2 separate regions of the Homo sapiens genome follow, and region 2 is linked to region 1. The links are contacts of gene promoters, found by promoter capture Hi-C in blood cells and fetal thymus (Javierre and others, 2016). All regions are on one chromosome and are shown on one strand. Each heading gives the region's core, a stretch centred on a gene start or on the middle of the fragment in contact. The rest is flanking DNA. Distances are from core to core; before and after follow the strand shown. Region 1 holds the start of TBX18 (T-box transcription factor 18). Region 2 holds the start of LOC105377881 (a long non-coding RNA gene).

The links. Contacts are between HindIII fragments. The CHiCAGO score rates a contact against its expected background, and 5 or more counts as called.
Region 2: a fragment that was not itself captured here is called in contact with the fragment with the promoter of TBX18 in region 1 in 1 of 17 cell types (endothelial precursors); the score reaches 6.5 in endothelial precursors.

What each region holds. Positions count from the first base shown.
Region 1 is chr6:84,762,084-84,767,455 of GRCh38, reverse strand. TBX18 (T-box transcription factor 18) reads left to right here and starts at 2,858. Exons shown (of 8, transcript NM_001080508.3): 1 at 2,858-3,566; 2 at 4,708-4,912. The coding sequence starts at 3,275. It overlaps LOC124901353 (a long non-coding RNA gene), which reads right to left and starts at 5,115. Exons shown (of 2, transcript XR_007059666.1): 1 at 4,970-5,115. RefSeq lists enhancers at 2,651-2,945, 2,957-3,540, 3,541-4,125. The HindIII fragment of the contact is 3,607 bases long and covers 986-4,592 here.
Region 2 is chr6:84,965,681-84,971,052 of GRCh38, reverse strand. LOC105377881 (a long non-coding RNA gene) reads left to right here and starts at 3,249. Exons shown (of 3, transcript XR_942746.2): 1 at 3,249-3,288. The HindIII fragment of the contact is 2,896 bases long and covers 614-3,509 here.

The DNA.
Region 1 (5,372 bases), core at 1,609-4,108:
TCTCCTCGAAAGGGCATGCCGCGCTGTTGGTAAAAGGCCTTGCTAGGACGAGGCTTTGCTGTCACTCGTCACTCTCAAGGCTGCCACTCCGCCCAGCCAACTCGGAATGTCTTTCCCTCCCATGCCCAAGAGAGATTCGACGCCCCTTCTCCAGGAGCCGAGGTTGGAGTGGGCTGCAGTCTGTGACACACTGCCCCTCGGGACCTGGGTTAGCTGGTCCTGCCCAATCCAGTAGCCTGAGCCGAACTTAACGCAAGTTGGAGGCGGCGGCAGCAGTGGTGCGGCTCTACTGCTATGATTCTCCTTAGCCAGTAGCAGGACTAGGGGGCAAACGCCTTGTCCTGTCCTCGGCGCCCTACTCACACTTGAATTATTTCTAAGGGCCACGTTCTAGAAACATCGTGGATGTAGACGAGGCTCTGCTTTCCAGCCTTTCGGCAATGCGGACACCAGTCCCCGGGTTTCCCCGCCTGCTGGGGTCTGCTGCCCAGGGTGAAGGCGAAAGACATAAAGAAATGGCAGAGGAAAAGAAGAGGGCGTGAGGCTGTATGATCCCGAGAGCGCCTTGCAGGCCTGTGTATCCCTTTCTAAATCAGTTTGAGCTGCAGGACATATACAGGGAGAACTCCTTTGCGGAACAGGCTTTGCGTCAGCAAACAGTGTTTGTCCCTGGCAGTTTCTCCCAGGGTAGGGGCTCCCACTACCCCTGCTGAGCCCCAGCAGGCCCGAGGGCTCCGACGACTACACCCCTGGGCAGCAGCAGAGTCTCCAAAGCTGTAAGGACCGCTCGGAGAAGCACCGGGTAGCTCCCTTCTTGGGGTCCCCGAGAGCCTGGGATTGGGGCGGGGCACCTCAGCTGAACGGAACTTCTTCTGGCGTCTACTCCAGCTAAGTTAGCTCCCGCCTTGTCCCACTCCCACTCCCGGCCCAAACTCTCTAGGCGGCCTCTTAGCTCTCCCTGCCGGCGCCTGCCTTCGGCTAAGCTTCAGAAATGGGATTTGCGCTTCTTTTTAATGATGTAATACCGGCCTAGGGTACCCCGGAGCTTGGAGACCCACTAGGGACCACACAGCTCTAAACCGGTCGCAAAGCCTTCATTTTGTAAAATGCAAAACACCTCCTCCCAACTGAGTTTGTTTCTCAGGCGTCTAAAAGAGGCTTCCTCCGCAAGGATATTACAAAATCATTTTTGACCTCAAGGCTGCCAGGTTTGGCTGGGCGGCTTGCTCGTGCCTCTGCTCATCGCCTGCCAGGTTCCTACTCCCGCTGTGGTGTCCGGCCTCCAGGAACCGCGCGTTCTCTTCTACAATAAAAGGATCAGTCTCAGTGGCGGATCTACCCCCAAATGCTACTCTACTGAAAGTTTACAGAGAAGTCAGAGATAAAAGGGCAGCCAACGGTTGCGGAGATTGAATTAAACGAGGGACGAGGGAGAGGAAAAAATTCCTTTGTCATATATATATATATATATATACACACACACACATATGGAGACAGAGAGAGAGACAGAGACGGAGTCTTGCTGCGTCGCCAGGCTGGAGTACAGTAGCGCGATCTGGGCTCACTGCAACCTCCGCCTCCCGAGTTCAAGCGATTCTCCTGCCTCAGCCTCCCGAGTAGCTGGGACTACAGGCGTGCACCACCACGCCCAGCTACTATTTGTATTTATTTATTTATTTAGTAGAGACGGGGGTTTCACCATGTTGGCCAGGATGGTCTCGATCTCTTGACCTCGTGATCCGCCCGCGTAGGCCTCTCAAAGTGCTGGGAATACAGGCGTGAGCCACCGCGCCCGGCCTGCCGTGTATTTTATACAAAAGATGGAGTAATATGCACGATTAATTTTATTCCACAAGAGATTTGCTCTATTTATACCAAACATATATATATATATTTGTTAATCCTAACAAAAAGTCGAGTTGAAACTACAAAACAAATTGTACAAATATATATGTTTGGTGTCATTTAATTAAAAAGCACTGATTTTATTAAATTTGTTTTAAATACATCAATGGACTCCTTAAAAGCCTGAAGTAACGATTGTAAATTGTCAACAGTAGGACAAATATAAACTTACTTAAATCACAGAGAAGTTTTTCAAATGGGGAATTTTATTGCGTCTTCATACTTATTTCATTTTGCGAAGTTTTAAGGGGTTTTAAAGTTGTCCATATCGTTAAAGACGTACAGAATGAAAATCCCATGACCTACGTTTTAAAATAACTACCACTCTTTGAAAGAAAAGGTGGGCTGCGGAAAGGGCGTGCTTTTTCTGACATTTATATGACGGACTGAGCGTTAACGTAACATTTTGCACTCCTAAAGGATTTACATATTTCTTAACCTGGTATCCCCTAAGAAAAAAATCACGGAGTAAAGTTTAAATAAGCCTAAGCCATATCTGGCGCAGACTGAGTGCAGGAACATTTAAATGAGAAAGGAGGGGCCTGCGAATTCTTCCCAGCTTCCCAATATTCTGAGTTGTAGCAACATTAAGCGATACGGAAGTGGGACGGCAATTTACGGAACCTTGAAAGATTCCTGATTTTCTAACTTGTTGAACGTCTAGTTTAAAGCCGGGAACTTCCGCCTTTCCAGGTCCTGGTGAGGAAAGCTGGAGACTACGGGGCTGGACTCAGCTACGGACGTCAGAGAGACAGAGTTCAGCGTCCGTGTGGCTGGCACATCCAAGCCAGACAGCGGCGCTTTTCACTCCTGGTTTTTCGCTACCTTGTAAGGAAGTGGGCGCGGGCTGCGCGGAGTCGGCGCCTCCTGATTGGCCGGCCGTCTGGGTGATGGACAGGGACCCGGGCTCCGCCCCCGCCGCTTTATTGACACTAATGAGCAAGTTCTTCCCACCGCTCTCCTGCCTGGAAGTGCTGACAGATCAAGGCAACAAATTTCAATTACAATCCCTAATTTGTGTCCACAGAGTGTTTTTTACCCATGTTAGTCCTCTCTGGCGCATCAGTTGAGGCAGACCTCGGAGCAGCAGGAGGAGGTGGAAGGGGTGGGAGCAAAGGAGTGCATCAGTGAGAGAGCGCGCGAGAGAGACCCAGGAAAGGAGACTTGGCCGGCGCGTCGCCGGTTCCTGGATCCCAACACAAGCGAGAAAGCGGAAACGCCAAATCTGTTTTTTGCCCGCGGTGGGGAAGGGGGCAGATCTCGGGAGGCCCCGAGAGCCTTTTAGTTTTTGGTGGGGGAAGAGCGAGAGCGCGCGTGTGCCCGCGTGAGTGTATATGAGAGAGGGGCGGGCGGGCGCGGGGCGGGGGGGATGGCCGAGAAGCGAAGGGGCTCGCCGTGCAGCATGCTAAGCCTCAAGGCGCACGCTTTCTCGGTGGAGGCGCTGATCGGCGCCGAGAAGCAGCAACAGCTTCAGAAGAAGCGGCGAAAACTGGGCGCCGAAGAGGCGGCGGGGGCCGTGGACGACGGAGGCTGCAGCCGCGGCGGCGGCGCGGGCGAAAAGGGTTCTTCTGAGGGAGACGAAGGCGCTGCGCTCCCGCCGCCGGCTGGGGCGACGTCTGGGCCGGCTCGGAGTGGCGCAGACCTGGAGCGCGGAGCCGCGGGTGAGTGGGCCCCTTCCTGCCTATAACTTCTCTCCGGCGCGAACCTGAACTTCTGCGAGTCTGTGGGTGTGCGTGCGCGCCGCGTCCCTACATGGCCAAGGCCACTCAGCCACTAGCGCATTGGCCGTGTCAGTCGCAAAGCTCGCCGCGCAACCTGGTCACCCTCCAGACGGTTCAGATACTGCTTCCAGGCTCGCCTCGCGGGCGGCCGCCGCCCACTCGGCGACCCGCGCCTTCGGCCGCGGCTGTTTGCTGCGCCTAGCGGTGCAGCTCTGTGCTTCCTGCATCTGCCTCCCTTGGGGTTCCAGCCAATGGGTGCTCTTTTTTGTTTCCTAACTTTTAAAAGCACAGGGCGGGGAGGAGGGGAGCGACGGCATACCCCACCCTGAAACCGGAACGAATGCCCTAAACCGTTTGTGCAAACCAGGAAGAGGGCGGCATATTTGGAAACTTGGTTTCCCGAAGGGTAGTTGAGCGGTTCCCTTCCCTTCTCCTCTTGATTTCTCTGCCAAGGCCGACGGCGACCGCGGGCTTGCTTTTCACACTTTTCTCTGCTGGGCTGGAAGCGCAGGGCGCCGGGAGTTTGGCGAAAGCGGGGTCTGAAGAGCCTTCTAGAAGATGCCTCCGGCCCGGCCCAAAAGAAGGCCCAAAGCGAGGCGCCGCAGACGCTTATGGCTTAAGGAGGCCCAGGCTCTTGGGACCAGAGTCCGGGCGCTTTTGCTGCTTGCGCTTCGAGGCGCAGGTTGCGTCGGAGTTTGCACTGGGGACTCTGGACCCGGGAGCTCCTCTGACTCCGTCGGGCAAGCGTCCCAGACCCCGGCGGCGGCGTGAAGCCTTTTCTGCTGGGGCCTTGGCCCTGCGGAGGCCCAGCGGGTGGGGTGGACGCTGCCCGCGCGCCTCTCCCGGGCTTGGGACTTGGGGACCAAGCAGGCCACACTGGAGCTCTGAATGCGCCCCTTCGACAGGCAGAATGTGGGTGTCTATCGACTGGCTTGTTCTTTAGGAGGACCTGATGGCACCAAAGCTTCCCCTTTTCTCCCGGTCATTTTCCTCTTCTCAGCCACCAGGTGGGCCCGTCTCCGCGGCTGGCTTCCCCTCTGTTTCCCTCACCAGTTCCCTTTCTCTGTCCTTTGCTGTCCAGGCGGCTGTGAGGACGGCTTCCAGCAGGGAGCTTCCCCTCTGGCGTCACCGGGAGGCTCCCCCAAGGGGTCTCCGGCGCGCTCCCTGGCCCGGCCCGGGACCCCTCTGCCCTCGCCGCAGGCCCCGCGGGTGGATCTGCAGGGAGCCGAGCTCTGGAAGCGCTTTCATGAGATAGGCACTGAGATGATCATCACCAAGGCCGGCAGGTAATGGGCAAGCTGGCGTGGACGCCCCTCCCTACCCCAGACCCTGTCTTCACTCACCTCTAGCTCAATCAGGAAGAAGGGCCTGCAGCTCGGTGGGGGTTCTGGATAGCATTTTCGGTCAAACGGGACCAGGCCCCAGACCGTGGTTCACTTTGGAGGCTAGCTTTGGCTACCCACCACTAGTGCAGTCGGTGCACAGTCCAACTGCCCTCTGGTTGAATGCCAGGGAGAAAATTACTGTCGCCGCTGATGCCACAGCTGTCGCGGTTGATGTTCTGCGTTCAGGGCGGTTATAAATTTGAGGTCATATTTACCCTTGTCCAGGTATTTATTTAGGCTCTAGTTGTCAGTTCTGGAACTAGGAAACATTCTTTTTTTTTTCCTTTCTCTTTTATTTTTAAACAGCAGTTTACTCCAGTAAACTATGATTTGCTTTTTCAGATTTGAAACTCCCAGGCAG
Region 2 (5,372 bases), core at 812-3,311, 200 kb before region 1:
ACATTTATCTGGGTTTTATTCTAACTTCTGAGTAAGGTTTTATGCAGGGGAGTGGTATGATCTAATTTACATTTTAAATGTATTAATCTCTCTATTGTGTAGCACATAGATTATAGGGAACAAGAATAGAAACAAGGAGATCAGTTCCTGGGCTATTGCAGTGGTTTAGGTGAGAAACGGTGGTGGCTTGCCACAGGGTGGTGGTGGCAGGGATGCAGAGAAGTGAACGTATTTGAGAGATGCATTGGAAGTAGAGTTGAGATGATGTGGTGATGGTGCATTAAATGTGGGGCGTGCAAGAAAGAGAGGAAGCAAGAATAATTCCTAGGTTTGGAGTTTGTAGCAATTGGGCAGATGTGGTTTTATTTATTCAAGGAAATGAGTGAATTAGAAATAGAGTTCTGTTTTAGCCATATTAGGGGTGTATGGCAGGTTGTATATTCCAAAGTGGCCAGAATGCTCCTCTGCAATGTGACCTTGCTGTTCACCCATCAAGAGGTGTAGTCGCATCCCTTTCCTATAAATCTGCATTGGCCTTAGAGACTTGCTTATATCCAGTAGAAGGCTGTGGCAGTGATGCTGCCTAACTTTCAAGGATAGGTCAGAGGAAGCTTTGCAGAGAAACACTTGCTCTCAGGATGGTCCCTCTTGGGCCTCTCTTAGAGCCCAGTTGCCACAAAAAGAAGCCCAAGCCGCATGAAGAAGCCCCATATAGGTGGTCTGGTTGACAGTTTTAGCTGAGCCCAGCTTTTTAGACATCCCAGCCCAGACGCCAAACATGAGAGTGAAACCTCCAGATAAGTCTAGTCCCCAGCCATTCAAGTCACCCTGGCTGTTTGAGTTTTTCCAGCCGAGGCCCCAGACATCACAGAACAGAAATAAACAAATCTTGCTCTGACCTGTCCAAATTTCTTACCCACTGAATCCTTGGACATAATGAAATCGTTATGGTTTTACACCACTAAGTTTTGAGTGTTTCATTACTCAGAGACACATAGAGCTGTGTAAGATGATTTCACTAGATATCTAAGCAGAGATATAAGTAGGTTGTAGGGTATTTAAGTCTTAATTTTTAGGGAGTAGAGATACAGATTTGAGAGTTTCAGTATCAGTCAAAGTGAGAGCAACCAGGGAGAAGTCAAGGGGTCCCAGTACCCAGCAGAGCACTCCAATATTTAGAGTTCAAGCAGAGTGGATAGAGTTGGCAAAGTGACTTGCAAGTATGGAAACCACACATCCCAGCTTGCCCAGGACAGCTCCTGTTACATCTATTGATCTATTGGTTTAGCATTACCTCTGTTGGGAACTTTTTTTTTTTTTTTTGAGACAGAGTCTCACACTGTCGCCTGGGCTGGAGTGCAGTGGCATCATCTTGGCTCACTGCAACCTCTGCCTCCCAGGTTCAAGCAATTCTCCCACCTCAGCCTCCCAAGTAACTGGGATTACAGGCATGCGCCACAATACCTGGCTAATTATTTGTACTTTTAGTAGAGATGGGGTTTCACTATGTTGGCCAGGCTGGTCTCAAACTCCTGACCTCATGATCTACCCACCTGGGCCTCCCAAAGTGCTGGGATTACAGGCGTGAGCCACCATGCCAGGCCAGTAACTTTTTAAACAATGTACTATCATCATTCATAGTTGCATGAAAATGAGCAGGAATAGGAAGACCCCCCATTTTGTACTTCTATCTTCTGTTGTGACATCTGTAGTGCATAAATATAGGTGTAAGTTCACACATAAACGGGTAGTTACATCTGAAAGTTGAGCAGTAATAGATAACCCAATCCTCCTTTCCCAGCTGATTCTAGAATATATGTAATATTCCCTTTCTAGACAGCATGGAGTGGGCTTCTAATAAACTGTGTAAAGACACAAGTGACCAGGACCAGCTAACTGGCTTCAGTGGTAGTGAGACATATTCGTTGCTGTTGCTCCTGTCAGTCACTTGTTCATGTCCTGTGAAATAGCCAAGGGCTTGAGGCTACCACCTGATAAGGTCAAAAAGAAACATGTGAGATAGGAAACAGAGGCCAAGCAGTCCTGCCTATAGAGATAGTCAGAGGGCTCTTATTATAGTGGATGACTGTTTTACAGTAGGAGCTATAGCTATTTACTTTTCTAATGTTAGGTTATACTTTTAAAATTTTACAATAAACCCTATAGCAGCAATGAGCTCAAAAGGTGAAAGTGCACGTTTACTTAAAAAGTAAGACTTGAACTTATGTTGAAAAAGTAAAGTGGTAAGAGTGTAACTTGCAAAATATATATTTTTTGCCAATATATACCATCCGTGATGGGGCCATAGTAATATTCATGACCCCATGAAAGGTAGATGACAAAATCTGCTGAGAAAGCACAAGTGTCTACTTCCAAAGCGAGTAGTTATTCTAAGAGGGCATATCTGCTAAAAACTACATAACGCATGAAGCTGCTGAAGATGGGTTTACATATGTAAGACACAGTGAATTTCTCTGAGTTTCTCTTCAGGGATTTAGCCTGCTAACTTCCTTGTCTTTTGTTCTCAAACTCAACTTTCCTGTTCCTCCTTGCCCCTAGTTACTGTCAAACAGCCTACCCCTTTCCTGTCAGCTCTAATCAATAACTCACATCTGTTCCCTTGGTTACCTGTAGTCATTGTTCCCCTGAAACTGCACATCTCACACGGTCCACCTCTGTACCTCACATCCCCGTCCCCTTCTATATTTAGAAAAATATGTACAAGTTGCCAATCGGGTCAGCTCAGATTGTGTGGTCCGACCCAGCTGATGGGGGAGTGACACAGAGGTAGGGACTATGTTAAGAATAAAAAAAGCCCCTGGTCGTCTTTGTTCAGTGTGCTCGTGAGATCTTGATTGATGCAGGTAGCACCCTTCTGCAGAAGTAAATTGCCTTGCTGAGTGCTGGTTTCACTTCACGGCATCAAGCATTTATTCCTAAAGCATTTTATATCCAACAATTCTGGGGGCTCGTCCGAGATCCCCATTCTCTTTCTGAAAGGGGTCTTCCATCACCCTACCCAGAGGAGATGGCGTCCCACTGCCCCGTTGCAGTGGCCTCAGGTACAAGAGATTGAGACCCCCCCGTTGAGACAAATGAACCCGGACTCTCAGCGATGCGGGGAGGAGAGGGTTGCAATACCACAGCAACCAGGTAAACTCTGTGCTCAGACAGAATGTAGGAAACGTCACAGGGGCAACAAAGCACTTCCTTGGTGGTTAGGGGTGGGGGTTGGGGCATTCCGGAGGCTGAGTGCATGAATGATAACAAGCACTACTGCTGTACGGAGTGAGTGAGTCTAATCTGCGGTTCCGAGGTCACTTCATAAGGCTTAGGGTGGCCCTTCAGGGGGTCCCTTCAGGGGTTTATTCTGACCTGCCATCAATGCTAAGAGGGACCTGCAATATTCCCGCGAGGAAAGCAGTCAGAGCAGACAAAGCAAAAGAAGGATGCAAGAAGACTCCAGCAGGTGGAGCTAAAGGATAGACGAATTGAGCCTTAGCAAAGCTTCCAGTGGAGGATAGGCAAGAGACCACCAAATATGAAGGGTTAAGCAACAAGGAACCCCCCAAATAGGCCAGAGATCCCTAACATGAGGGGTTGAGCCACAGCAAGCTCCCACTAGGCAAGAGATTCCTAATACGAGGAACTGAGCCTAGGCAGGGCCCTGGATGGGAAATATTACAAGCAAAAAAGATAAAGTTAGCAACAAAGATACCTCCTGATAGTCCCCTAGGTCTCGTGTTAAAACATTAGAAAGATAATTAAAATATTAAACATAAGAAGAGCAACAAATGATAAAATACTGCTGTTCCAATTGGACTCAAGGATCAATCCTTGAACCCTTAGTTTTCTGGCCAGAATTTGGGTTGAATGAGGAATGGATTTGTGAACTTCTAATAGAAAATGTTGCTAGTAGAAGACCTGCCTCCCAAGAGGAAATAGATTATGCCCTATGTTGGTGGCAAGGCCTTGTCCTTTCCCCTCCTCCAAGGATTGAAAGGAGCAAGTCAAAAACTAATCTTTGGAGGAAAATTAGTTGTACATGCGCCCCATTAAGGACAGAATCATCTTGAATGAAAAAGACAGTGAAGGAAGGGTCTTAGGGGATCCTAGCAAAAAGAACAGCACACAGGATCCCCTAGACCATCCCCCACCTAATACACCCCCCCCTTCCCCTCAGGTATCACTCCATAAGTCTGTTCTTCCCCAGCCTAAGTCCCCCTCCTCAAAAGGACTCCAAGCTCCTAAGTTGCCAGGTGGCTTTTGTCATCAAGGATCCGCCGCAACATGTTGTCAGAGTTGTACGGCCCATAGTGCACCTCCACGGCAGCCAAAGTCCATGCTCCTGCCCCACCAGCTGGTCCAGGGTCCCAGCACCATATTGACGGTGGCTCTACAGGACACACAGCCTGGGCCACAGCCTGTGCCCCGAGCAGACTACATTATAGGTCATCTGCCTTACTTTTGCCAGCGCCAAGTAATACGGGGCTTCAGCTGAGGCTCCAAGCAGCTAGGCATCTCTGCAGCTAAGTTTCCTGAGCAAGAAGTAGAACTATCTTTCAGCTGGTATATCTACTAGCATTTATTGTGGTCAGTCCAGTGTTAAAGGTGGAAGTATCCACCAGAAAAGAACTTTGATTCTTTAAAGTCACTTATATTAAAATGTGCCACCAGAAAAAAATTACAAATGTATAAGTATGAAGCTATTCTGTTAAAAAGGATGGTTTAACATTAACTACTAAGAACTTAACCTATCACATTTCTTAACAAGAGATCCAAATCTAAAAAGAAAGCACACATGTTTAGATTTAAGTGAGTACCATACAAACATCTGGCCAAACTTAAGAAAAACCCCCTTCAAAAGTGATTAAGGGAAAAAGAACACAATAAGTGTTCAGTAATTAATAAAAAAAAGTTCCTAGAGAAATAAAATCAAAGTGTTTAATAATTAGTCTATTCAAATTTATAAGCTGTCTGCACTTAGTCAAACTTTAAAGTACCTGCAGGACCCAGAAAGAACCATCTATACTAATTCTAAATACGCCTCTGTGGTAATTCATATATTTAGAAAATTTCAGACTGAATTAATAGTAAAAGTCAAAGCCTTGTTTATGAGGAGTTAATCACGTAAGTCTTAAATAACCTTCAGTTACCAGAAAAGAAAATAGCTATTGTCTGTGTCTCCAGGTACCAAAAAGCCTGTCTTTCAAGAGTCAAGAAAATAACCTAGCAAATCAGAAAAGCCGGACTGGCTGCCATTTCTCCTGTAGGCGCTAAAGAGAACTCAGAGAAATGTTATTCAAACCTCTTATGAAGGAAGTCCTATCCCACCTACATTAGAGGACCCATTAAAGACCCCAAGCCATGTA